Regions from separate parts of the Homo sapiens genome. Here region 1 is linked to region 2. Evidence: promoter capture Hi-C in 16 types of primary human blood cells and fetal thymus (Javierre and others, 2016). All regions are on one chromosome and are shown on one strand. The core of a region is centred on a gene start or on the middle of the fragment in contact, and the rest is flanking DNA. Distances in the headings are between cores, read along the strand shown.

Region 1 (5,785 bases), core at 882-3,381, 250 kb after region 2:
CTAATCTAATACCAGCTAACCTAACTTTTTTGCAACTGGAAGATCATTTTCATACATATTATTTCATTTGAGCCTCAAAATAACCCTGGTACTAGAAGTTTCAGAAACCCTTAATTTAGAGGGGCTGAGTTACTTGCTCAAGGTCATGCATGGGCTGACCAAGGACAAAAGTAGGGCTGGAACATAGACTTTCAGAATCCAAGGCCAGTGCCCTTGCTTCTGCGCTGTCTCCACAGGAAGATGGGTTACAGCCTCTCCCTGTTGGCTCCTGAGAGCCCCAAATCACCTTTGGGGTTTTTAGAACAACAGAAGGCCTTCGCTGCTCAGGCTCTGATTCCTGATCAAATGACTCTCTGCTGGCATAGCCCAGGGCACAAACAAAGCTTCTTTCAGTCCCTTGGCGCTGCAGAAGAGAGCACATGAGATCCCCTTCTCTCCACGTCCACAAAACCATGCTGTGAATCCTCACCATGCCTGGCTCATCTAAGACACCATTGCCTCTTATTCTGCGTACACGCCATGGGCACAGCCTGGCTGCTCCTCCCCACTCTCTCCTGCCTGGGTCATTCATGCACTTGTGGGTCTTTGTGGCCACAGTGTGACCTCCTGCCAGTTAAAAATTGATGCATTTAGGTAAAGGGTATGCAGGTATACTCTGTATTCTTTTTTATTTTTATTTTTTTGAGATAGGATCCCGCCCTGTGGCCCAGGCTGGTGTGCAGTGAAGCAATCACGGCTCACTGCCACCTCCATGTCCTGGACTCAAGTGATCCTCCTGCCTCACCCTCCAGAGTAGCTGGGACTACAGATGCATACCACCATGCTTGGCTACTTTTTTAAAAATTTATTTTTTATAGAGATGGGATCTCACTATGCTGCCCAGGTTGGTCTCAAACTCCTGGGCTCAAGCAATCCTCCTGCCTTAGCCTCCCAAAGTGCTGGCATTATAGGCGTAAGCCACCATGCCTGGCCTTCTTTCAAATTTTCTGTAAGTTTGAAATTATTTCAAGATAAAATTTTTTTAAGAATAGAAGGAATAGATTTGTTTGGGCTGATATAAAATGATTTCCAAGATACCTACTTATATATACATATACATATATATATATATATACACACACACACACACACACACACACACACATATATGATCTTATATATCTTATATGCACACCTATATATATCTAAGCTTTCAAACATGCATCTTAGATGCCAGTGTATCTAGCATGTTTGAAAGCTCAGATATGTATAGGTATGCATATATATACACTATACGTGTGCTTAGAATAGGAGTAGGCAAACAATGGCTCACTGCCCGTTTTTATAAATAAAGGTTCACTGGAAAAAGCCATGCCATTTGTTTACATATTGCCTATGGCTGCTTTTATACTATAAGGTCACAGTTACTCAACTGTGTCCAGGTGTGACAGAGACTGGACCACAAGGCTGAAAATGTTTACCATCTGGCCCTTTACAGAAAACATTTGCTAACTTCTGGCTTAAAAAATTTAGGCCAAGCATGTTGGCTCATGCTTGTAATCCCAGCACTTTGGGAGGCTAAGGAAGGTGGACTGCTTGAAGTCAGGAGCTCAAGACCAGCCTGGCCAAAATGGTGAAACCCCGTCTCTACTAAAAAAAATACAAAAATTGCCAGGTGTGGTGGCTCACGCCTGTAATCCCAACACTTTGGGAGGCTGAGGCCGGCAGATCATGACGTCAGGAGATCGAGACCATCCTGGCTAACATGGTGAAACCCCGTCTCTACTAAAAATACAAAAAATTAGCTGGGCATGGTGGCGGGTGCCTGTAGTCCCAGCTACTTGAGAGGCTGAGGCAGGAGAATGGCGTGAACCCAGGAGGCAGAGCTTGCAGTGAGCCGAGATTGTGCCACTGCACTCCAGCCTGGGTAACAGAGCAAGACTTCGTCTAAAAAAAAAAAAACAAAAGAACAAAAAACAAAAATTAGGTGAGCATGGTGGAGGGCACCTGTAATCCCAGCTACTTGGGAGGCTGAGGCAGGAGAATCGCTTGAACCTGGGAGGCAGAAGTTGCAGTGAGCCAAGATTGGGCCACTGCACTCCAGCCTGGGTGACAGAGCAAGACTCCGTCTCAAACGAAAAAAAGAAAAGAAATATATTCAAGATAGTAAGATAAGAGTTGCCTCATGGTAATGGAGAATGGAATTTGGGATGCGAAAAAGAAAAGTTTTCATTATAAACCTTTTGGTGTTCTTTGAAGATCTTTTTATACCATGTGACTACATGGCTTTGATAAAAACAATTTTTGAAAATGATTTAAAATTGTCTTTCCTTTTACCAGACCAAATGTTGTTTCTCTCCACTCCCAGAACTCTGCCCACTGTCAACACTGGCACCCAACACAGGTGCCTTCCCCCTCTTCCTGACAGCAGCGATCAGCTCACTCCATAAATAACCACTTGTTCTTCCTCAAGGACGTTTTTCCTCAGAGGCCCTGGTGACCAGCACAGACTGCCGCGGGGATGTGTTACATACCTGGTCTTGTTTCCCCCAGATGATCTGCGTCGGAACCTTGATCTTGTCCATGTTCTGATGGAGAGAGTATCTGGACTTCTCACTGACGATTTCCAAAAACACTTGTCAGAAAAGGAAAACAAAGTGAGTATGTGCTGGACTGTGCCTGTGGCACCACCGCAGAATCAAGGGATAGTCACCAGATCCAGGCCACCACTTCCTCTCTTCAGGGGCCCAAAGAGACATTCAAAGTGTCAGAGATTTAAGAAATAAAAGCCATCCATCCACAGAGCTTCACTTGTAACAAGCTCCAAGCTGAAAGTAGGGCTACTTACACTTTCGGTAGAAGTTGTTATGAGGGATGCGGACATCGACAAGGCCTTGCAGGATCTAAGGATAAATAACCCAAAGTTAGAGAGCAAGAGAAGATTCATTTCCTCAGGCCTCTCACAGCTCTGGGACAATGAATGGGAATGAGGTCCAGCAATTTATTGCACTGTCAAGGTCTTTAGAGCCTGGTCCTCTGAATTCCCATGATGCAGCACACAGTCTAATGGGGAGTTAGGCTTCTAAGAAGCTTTTTATTATTATTATTATTATAAAGGAACTTGGGTAATATCGTGAAACTGGAGGTGCCCTACAGCATGTTAAATACACCTGAGATGGCCTGACAGCAACTTTAGCTTGAGAGATTCTCTGCTTCACTTAAGACATAATCAGGATGGGCCGGGCATGGTGGCTCATGCCTGTAATCCCAGCACTTCAGGAGGCCAAGGCGGGCAGATCACTTGAGGCCAGGAGTTCAAGACCAGCCTGGCCAAATGGTGAAACCCCCATCTCTACTAAAAAGACAAAAACTAGCAGGATGTGATGGTGCAGGCCTGTAATCCCATCTACTCGGGAGGCTGAGGCAGGAGAATCACTTGAACCCAGGAGGCGGAGGTTGCAGTGAGCTGAGATTGCGCCACTGCACTCCAACCTGGGCGACAGTGAGACTCTATCTCAAAAAAAAAAAAAAGACATAATGAGGATGACCATAATATCAAGTAATTCGCCAGTAATATCCAAACGCAGAACAAGTTCCATTAAAAAAATTAAGCCACTGGGGGATGATAGGTCTATTAAACAACAAAGAAATAAACTATTGAAAAGATTCTGGGGAGGGTTCCACAGTCCCACTGGGAGGGTTCAACAGCCCTTTGTTTATCATTTGACACTGTCTTTGCCTTCCCTGCTGAGGGCTGGTGAGGGCTGCAGCCAATGTGGACAGGCCACATCTTCTGGACCTGGGCTACTGACCCAAAGAGGTAGTGGTGGCTGGAAGGAACACAGTTCTTCTCTTCCTCCTGCCTCAGGACTCCTGAGGTAGAGTACAGGGTTCACATTAGTGGCTGTACTCCTCTACTCCTCTCCTCTACCTGCAAACAGGTCTGAACCCTTTAATTACACTCTCTCAGGAGTCCTGTGCACTGACTGAAAGTGGGGAAGAACCAGCCATGGCTGCTATGGACTAAACCAACCCTCTGGAGCATCACTAGACTCTAACTCATTCAGCCTGGACATGAGGACAATGACAATTTGTTGAATAACAACATTGTGCTCAGCATCAGAGATTTTCTTTGTTCAGCTATCCACCTGTACCCACATATCTATTCATCTTGTGTCCATCCATCCTCCACCTCTGCTCAATGCAGCCATCCATCCTGAACCACATATGCATTTGTCTACCTATCTATCCTGTATTCATCAATCCATCCAACCTCCATCTCTGCATTAACCAGATATCCTCCCATCCATCCATCCATCCAACCATTCAGCCATCTATCCATCCTGCAGACCTAAATCATCTGTGCACTGGCACATCAATCAATTCATGCAAAAATCTATCCTGCATCTACCCACCCATCCATTGTCCATCCCTGCATTATCCAGGCATCCTCTCATCCATCAATCCATCCAATCTATACCTAGGACCTACTTCATGCAAGCACTGTGCTAAAGTCTGGGGATAGAACAGCCAATTAAGACAAAGTCCCTAGTGGAAGACACAGACGTGCAATCACAACACAATATGACATGGTGGGCTGAGTGTGCAGGTGCTCCTTCTCTCCTAGGAAGGAAAGACTTTTGGAGCTGCCATTTATTTTTCTCTTGGTGTTTTCATATCCCTGACAACCCAAAACATGGAGTTTTCTAAAACATCATTTGGCCACTCTATTCTGGGAAGAGATCAGTGCTGGGAGAAAGGAATGCTACTTCATGGCTAAAAAGGGATTTCAGGGGTGGAACATGCCACAGCATCAGATTCTGGGTGTTTCCTGAGGGACAGGCCGTATCTATTAACTGAGCCATGTTCACAACTTCTGAATGGGATCTATTCCCTCAAGTCTTAGGAGGACCTGCCCACCTCCAGGCAGGGTCCAGCTCCTACAACAGAGGGAGATAATTTGGGGTTATGAAGCCTCAGCCATGGACTCTCCTCTCTTGGTTCTTCACACCATTTCCCTAGATGACTTCATTCAGTCCCATAACCTTCAATATTAGCGTCTGCTGATGGCTCCAGTGGTACAGCTTCAGGCCAGACTTCCCTCAGCTACACCTTGACCTCTGCACTTGGAGGCCTCACAGGCAACCTGAACTTAACACATGAAAAATGGAGTCCTTGGCATATTCCCCAAGCCTGCCCTTCTACTCTTCAGAATATACTACCTCTGTTTTTGTTTTTGTTGTTGTTTTTTTGAGACAGGGTCTCACTCTGTTGCCCAGGATGGAGTGCAGTGGCATGATCTTGGCTCACTGCAGCCTCTGCCTCCTGGGCTCAGGTGATCCTCTCACCTCAGCCTCCCGAGTAGCTGGATCTACAGGCACGCACCACCACACTTGGCTAATTAAAAAAATTTTTTTTTGTAGAGATGGGGCTTCACCACGTTGCCCAGGCTGGTCTCGAACTCCTGCATTTACACAATCCACCCGCCTTGGCCTCCCAAAGTGCTGGGAATACAGGTGCAAGCCACCATGCCCAGCCAGGACCTCAAGTGCTGGAAGTCACCTGGGACTCCTCCCCTTTCCCCAGCCCCCATTTCCAATTTGCCTGTACATCCTGTCCATTCTTTCTCAAATCTCATCTCCATTGCTACCATCCTAGTCTACACCACCATCATCTCCAAGGCACAATAGTTCCCAAATGGGTTCCTCTGTTCCATTTGTGCTCTCCTACAATCTCTCAGTGGTCCTATTATACTTAGAAAAACTCCTGGCTCCTTTCCGTACCTATAAGGTCCTACAGGATCTAG
Region 2 (5,672 bases), core at 2,227-4,726:
GTTAACTCAGCAATATTTCAAACCCTGCATAGTCCAAAGAAAGGACTGGCACCTGACAGCTCCTGGGAGGTAACCTCTATGCCCTTGGAATATCCTGCCTGAAAACAGTATCTTTGTATACTTGGGGCCTTGGGCCATGCCAGGCAGTTTATACTAATAATGTGATTCCGAGTGGGTCCTTAGGCCACACTCTATGAGTTTCACATCTGGAGTCGATGGAGACTGAGTAGCTAAGGTCAGCCACACAAGCATCCCATGGCTCTGTGATGACTGCAATAACTCTGGACACCAAGGTGTTGCCAGATGGTGCCATGCAGTTCCAGGCTCTTGGTGTCCCAAACGAAAAGCTGGACTGGGCCGGGTGCTGTGGCTCATGCCTATAATCCCAGCACTTTGGGAGGCTGAGGCGTGCGGATCATTTGAGGTCAGAAGTTCAAGACCAGCCTGACCAACATGGTGAAACCCTGTCTCTACTAAAAATACAAAAATTAGCCGGGCATGGTGGCACATGCCTGTAATCCCAGCTACTCAGGAGGCTGGGGGAAGAGAATTGCTTGAACCCAGGAGGCAGAGGTTGCAGTGAGCCACTGCATTCCAGCCTGGGCAATAGAGCAAGGCTCTGTCTCAAAAACAAAAAAACAAAAAAACCAAAAAACTGGACGTGATACACACAAGTAGCAAAGCCAGCAGCAATAGTTTATTAAGCACAGCATTATACTCTCAAAGAGGGCAGAGTGGGCTGACCTCTGCGAGATGAGATCAGCATCAGTTTCCTGGGCTTGTGGTCTTCTTATGTGTTCTTTTTTCCCTTTCTTTTCCCAAGGCTGCCGAGTCTCTAGCTAGTGTCTGCCTTTTGATTGATAGGCATGTTGCTTACTTTGTTTGGCCCTTGTGCGCTTGCACGTCGCCTCCGTTCCATAATCTCAAGTACATGCATGATATGCAGTCCATATGCATGAGCTTTAATGAGCTGATTATCATACGGGGTCATGTTAAAGATGCTTTTTCGCTCTAATGAGCATGCCTATCTCGGAGGAGCTGCCCCTTACTGGTTTGGTCAGGATCTTGCCAGCCATGGGGTCTCTTTACTCAGTTTTTTATCTTACTTTTGTTTTGGCTGCTTAACTTCTGCTTCTTCTCTTGCTTCTTGCTCACTCACCCCTTCACCTTGCTTCTGCTTTCGCTCATTCCACCCTTTATCCAACCTCCAATTCCTTCTGCTGTTCTCCTGCCTCAAAAGTGTGCTTCCCTGGTTGTCAATACTTCGTGCATATTGTAAACATCGTTGTTGGGAGAATTAAATGCTGTCCATACAACACCACTGGGAGAGGACACCTAGAAGCTCAGTCTATTCTCTCCTAGACTTCGTGCTATGTACCTTTTCCTTCTACTGATTTTAATCTGTAATCTTTTGCTGTAATAAACTGTAACCATGAGTATTACAGTTTCTTCTTGTTTGTTCTAGAGGCAAAGTCTCACTCTGTCACCCAGGCTAGAGTATAGTGGTTCCATTATAGCTCACTGCAGCTTCGAACTTCTGGGCCCAAGCAATCCTTCCACTGCATCCTCCCAAAGAGCTAGCACTACAGGCACACACCACCACACTGGGCTAATTTTTACATCTTTTTTGGTAGAGACAGGGTCTTGCTATGTTGTCCAGGCTGGTCTCAAACTCCTGGCCTCAAGTGATCCTCAAGCCTCAACCTCCCAAAGCAATGGAATTATAGGCGTGAGCCATCACGCCTGGCTCAGTATAACAGTTTCTAAGTTCTATGAGTCTTCCTAGCAAATCACTGGACCTGAGGTTGATCTTGGAGAACCTCTGACACACTCAAATAAGTTCTGAAGATTAGCTGACAATATTGCAGCAGTGTTAATGGCTTGGTTTCATAATTGTACCTTAGAAGAAGCTGAGTGAAGGATATACAAGAACTTTTTGCAGCTTTCTGAAATTCTAAAGTTATTTCAAAATAAAAAGTTAAACACAAAGAACAAGGAGACAAGTGTGATCATTGTTAGTGCTGGGTGTTAGGTACATGCAGGTTCATTATATTTTTCTCTCCACTTTTGTACAAGTTTGAAATATTTTGTAATTTAAAAAGCCTTTTTAAGCTAGAGAATTCAAGATTTCAGTGCAACAAATCAAAATGATCACATCCAAAACATACAGAACAGGGTCAGCTTCAAAGCGGATGAGAAAACAATTTAAACATGGAGAGTTTATTAAAAAGCCTTGCTCCAAGGGCCCCTGAGCAAGGCTTTCTTCACTGGGCACTTCCTGCAATCCAAGCCTTTCTCTATGGCAGAGAGGAACTAAGTCATTGCCCATGGTCAGTGATAGCATAAATCCTTGGCGGAGATGAGTCCAGGTGTAAGTAAGAACTTTCACCTCCAAACAGTGGGGCCAAGACCACCTTCCCTGAAACCACTGCCCACAGCAATGAGGACTGCCAGGAGTCTGAGCCCCACAGCTCCAGAAGGACCTACTAGGTGATAAGTTGCAAAGCTTGGGCCACAGGTCCTGCCTCTTCCTACAGACACAAGCTAGACACTACCTTGGGGATATGATGGGGTGCTGTGAGGCTCCTTACTGAGCAAATACCTTGCATTACAGGGGAGGCCAAGGCCCAGAAAGGAGTACACCTGCTCAGAGTCAACATAGCTCAGAAGTCCTGCCAGAACAGGAGCCTTGATCTCCTACTGGCCCCTTGATTTCTTTCCCAGTCTTACACAAATGTGTTACGTAATCTACTTATTGTGCAAACCCAAACAAAGTGACATCCCTCCCTGAGCCTGTTTCCTTACCTGCAAAATGGGGAGCCGCATCTGACTTTCCAAGGTGGTTATGCAGGGAGGGAACCTCTAAGCCTCTCATTCCTCTCACTAAGACCCAGCTCTCATCTGGATCCCACACACTACAGATGGATGCTTCACAAATATTTTTCCAGGGAATGTCAGGGGATGCTAAGCATAAGACAAGCCATATTTTAGAGCAGAAACATGGGGAGAGAGGAAAAACGTACACCTTACAGAGCAATCCTTTCACATGAGGACCATCTCAGGGGAGCCTATTAAGCTCGTGTGATATTAACAGCTTGAGTGCCTGAAGGGCACACAGTGAAAGATCAGGGAAGACCAGGATATCACTTTGGAAACACTGCTGGGGTACACAGCTTTTTGGTACAAGTAGTGTCAAAGGAATCCCTGGCTTTGAGATGTAAGGGCTCCAACCTCCCAGAAGTCCTCCCAGGGCAGCCCCAGCGACAGGCACAAAGGTCACACCCATGCAGGAAGAGAGGGAGGAAGGAGAGGAGCTCCATAAGCCCAGACAAGGGCTTGAGAGCAGACAAGGGCTTGAGAGCAGACAAGGGCTTGAGAGCAGACAAGGGCTTGAGAGCTGGCCAAGCAGTTTCTCTCAGCTTCTGTGTTCCAGCCCCTATGTGGGAGGAGAGAAGGGCAGGACCACAAGCCTGCCAGAGGCTGCGGCCTACAGCCGGGGAGAGGCCAGCCCGGCCTACAGTGCGGACACAGGACAGAGGGGAGCCAGGTGAGCCAGGTTTTTGGGCAGGGAGGGACTGGGAGACCCCAGAGGAGAGGGCTGCCCCCATGATGACCCTGTCCGCAGCTCCGAGAGACCCTGAGCAAGGCTTTCTTCACTGGGCACCTCCTGCAAATCAGGCCCTGCACTAAGTGTTAGGGTCACGGCATGACAGTGACAAAGATCCCGGCCCTCTTGCAGTTTCTGTGTTAGTAGCAGGGAGATGGAAGTAAACAAAAACATATGAAATGAGTAAATGATCTCAAATGTCAGAAGGGGATAAGTGAAAAGAGAAAAAGGAGAGCAGAGTGAGGAGGACAGGGAATGCCGGGGGAGGGGGCTTGGGGTTTTAAAGAGGGTGGCCTCTTTAAGGTTAAATGAGGTTCAATGCAAAAAGCCCTAGTGACATTTGAAGAAAGGGTGTTCTGGGCAGATGGAGATGCCCTAGCAAATGCTGGCAGTGGCAGGGAGGCCTGGAGCATTCAGAACAGCAAGGAGGCAGTGGCAGCAGAGCAAGGAAAAGAGGTAAGGCAGGACGAGAGGAGCCGCACTAGGGGCACTTGCAGGACTCCGGGGGGCAGAGGATGGGGCCCCTTGCCAGCACCCCCACAGCCCTGCTGGGGGTATTGGTTTGAAAGCCTCATATGAATCATTTGCTACATGTGGTTGCATGACCCTTATAAAGTCTCCTCCCTTTCCAAGGCCCACATCCTCTCCATAAAATGGTAATAACAGCAGTGCATCTGTCAGGTTGAGGTCAGGAAGGAAGGGGATCAAAAGCATGGCAGCCTGCCGGAGAGATTTACAACATACCTGCTGCAAGCTAGGAAATGCAGAGCTGGCCTCCCAGGCCTTGTGGGAGGAACATGTAAGCAAATAAGAACTTGTCCCTAACCCTAGAGCACCCAGGGAACGAGGGAGCTGAACTTTGTTCAGAGAGAACAGCAGGGGCAAAGGGTAGGAAGAGAATGAGTGGAGGCCAGGGATGAGGGCAGTAAGTTGACATAGGAGAGAGGTGAGTGGAGTAGGGTTGGGTAGACACAGCAAGGACTCCATTCCACAAACAGTGGGCCCCAAGGAGCAGATTCCAAGCAGGAGAGGAAAACAATGTGATTTGCAGTTCAAGAGTTCACCTGGCAGCTGGGAGAACAAATAAGAGGAACACTGAGGCCAAGTAAGAGATAACAGTGGCCTGGATGCTAGCCAAAGAGATAGCAAGGAGCAGATGGACTCAAGAGACTTGTGAAATAGGATGGACTGCACCTCATGGTTGCCTCACTGTGGAGGAATAGGGGCTTCTCAGAGGCCAAGCACTTGCCATGAAGGAGACAGGGTCCAACCTGGGTATGAAAGACACTCAGGGGCTCCAGGGGAACACTTCACAGGCAGGAAGAAGGCTTCCTCCCTTCAGTTCCACAATATACCTGCAGGGCTCATAGAAATGGAGCTGAGTGATCCTAGAACTTATGAGCAGTTTAATGAGACCAAGGTGCCCCCAGCAATCCTCCACAGTGGAGCTGTAGTATGGACAAGTCATGTGCTTTGTGGTCAGACCCCATCCAACTCCTGGCCATCTCCAGCTGTGTGGCTAGGGGCCACTCAACCTCTCCAGGATTATTTTCTTCAGGTGTAAGCTTCACTGACTTTTTTGTGAAGATTTCCCTAGGCAATTCATGTAACTCAAACTGCAGTGGATAGAGCCCAATCTTTGGGGTCAGGCCCTGTCCAATTTTGGCTAACAAGTATTGAACAAACATGTACCAAGCAATGGCTGCATACCATGCCTACCATGCACACAGTGCCTGGTCCACAGCCAGTGTCCACAGGGGGAGTGGGGAGGTGGAGTGGCATTCAGGTACTTAGGGATGTCTTTCTTCTACCAACCAGCCCTGGCTGACACCCAGCCCTAGGCAGTTCCTCTTGCACACAGGTTCTTTGCACTGACCAATGCTGAGAGCAGACCCTCGGAGCAGCCGGGTTGGAAGTGTCTCTCCATAGTCACCAGACAGATCCAGGATAGGATGGGCAGCCCAGTGCACCGAGTGTCATTGGGGGATACCTGGAGCAGGCAAATGCACCCCGACATAGAGAGCGAGAGGTATATGCAGTCCTTTGACGTGGAACGGCTCACCAA

Evidence for each region. Contacts are between HindIII fragments. The CHiCAGO score rates a contact against its expected background, and 5 or more counts as called.
Region 1: a contact is called between a fragment that was not itself captured here and the fragment with the promoter of ACOX2 in region 2, in 8 of 17 cell types (total CD8 T cells, naive CD8 T cells, total B cells and 5 more). The highest score is 7.2, in total CD8 T cells.

The regions. Positions count from the first base shown.
Region 1 is chr3:58,282,182-58,287,966 of GRCh38, reverse strand. ABHD6 (abhydrolase domain containing 6, acylglycerol lipase) reads right to left here. Exons shown (of 10, transcript NM_001320126.2): 8 at 2,828-2,882; 9 at 2,514-2,614. Among named protein-coding and RNA genes, the nearest start is that of RPP14, 21 kb to the left of the region's middle. The HindIII fragment of the contact is 1,880 bases long and covers 1,192-3,071 here.
Region 2 is chr3:58,534,994-58,540,665 of GRCh38, reverse strand. ACOX2 (acyl-CoA oxidase 2) reads left to right here and starts at 3,476. Exons shown (of 15, transcript NM_003500.4): 1 at 3,476-3,547; 2 at 5,469-5,672. The coding sequence starts at 5,560. It overlaps LOC107984079 (a long non-coding RNA gene), which reads right to left and starts at 5,294. Exons shown (of 3, transcript XR_001740724.2): 1 at 4,352-5,294. The HindIII fragment of the contact is 2,666 bases long and covers 2,509-5,174 here.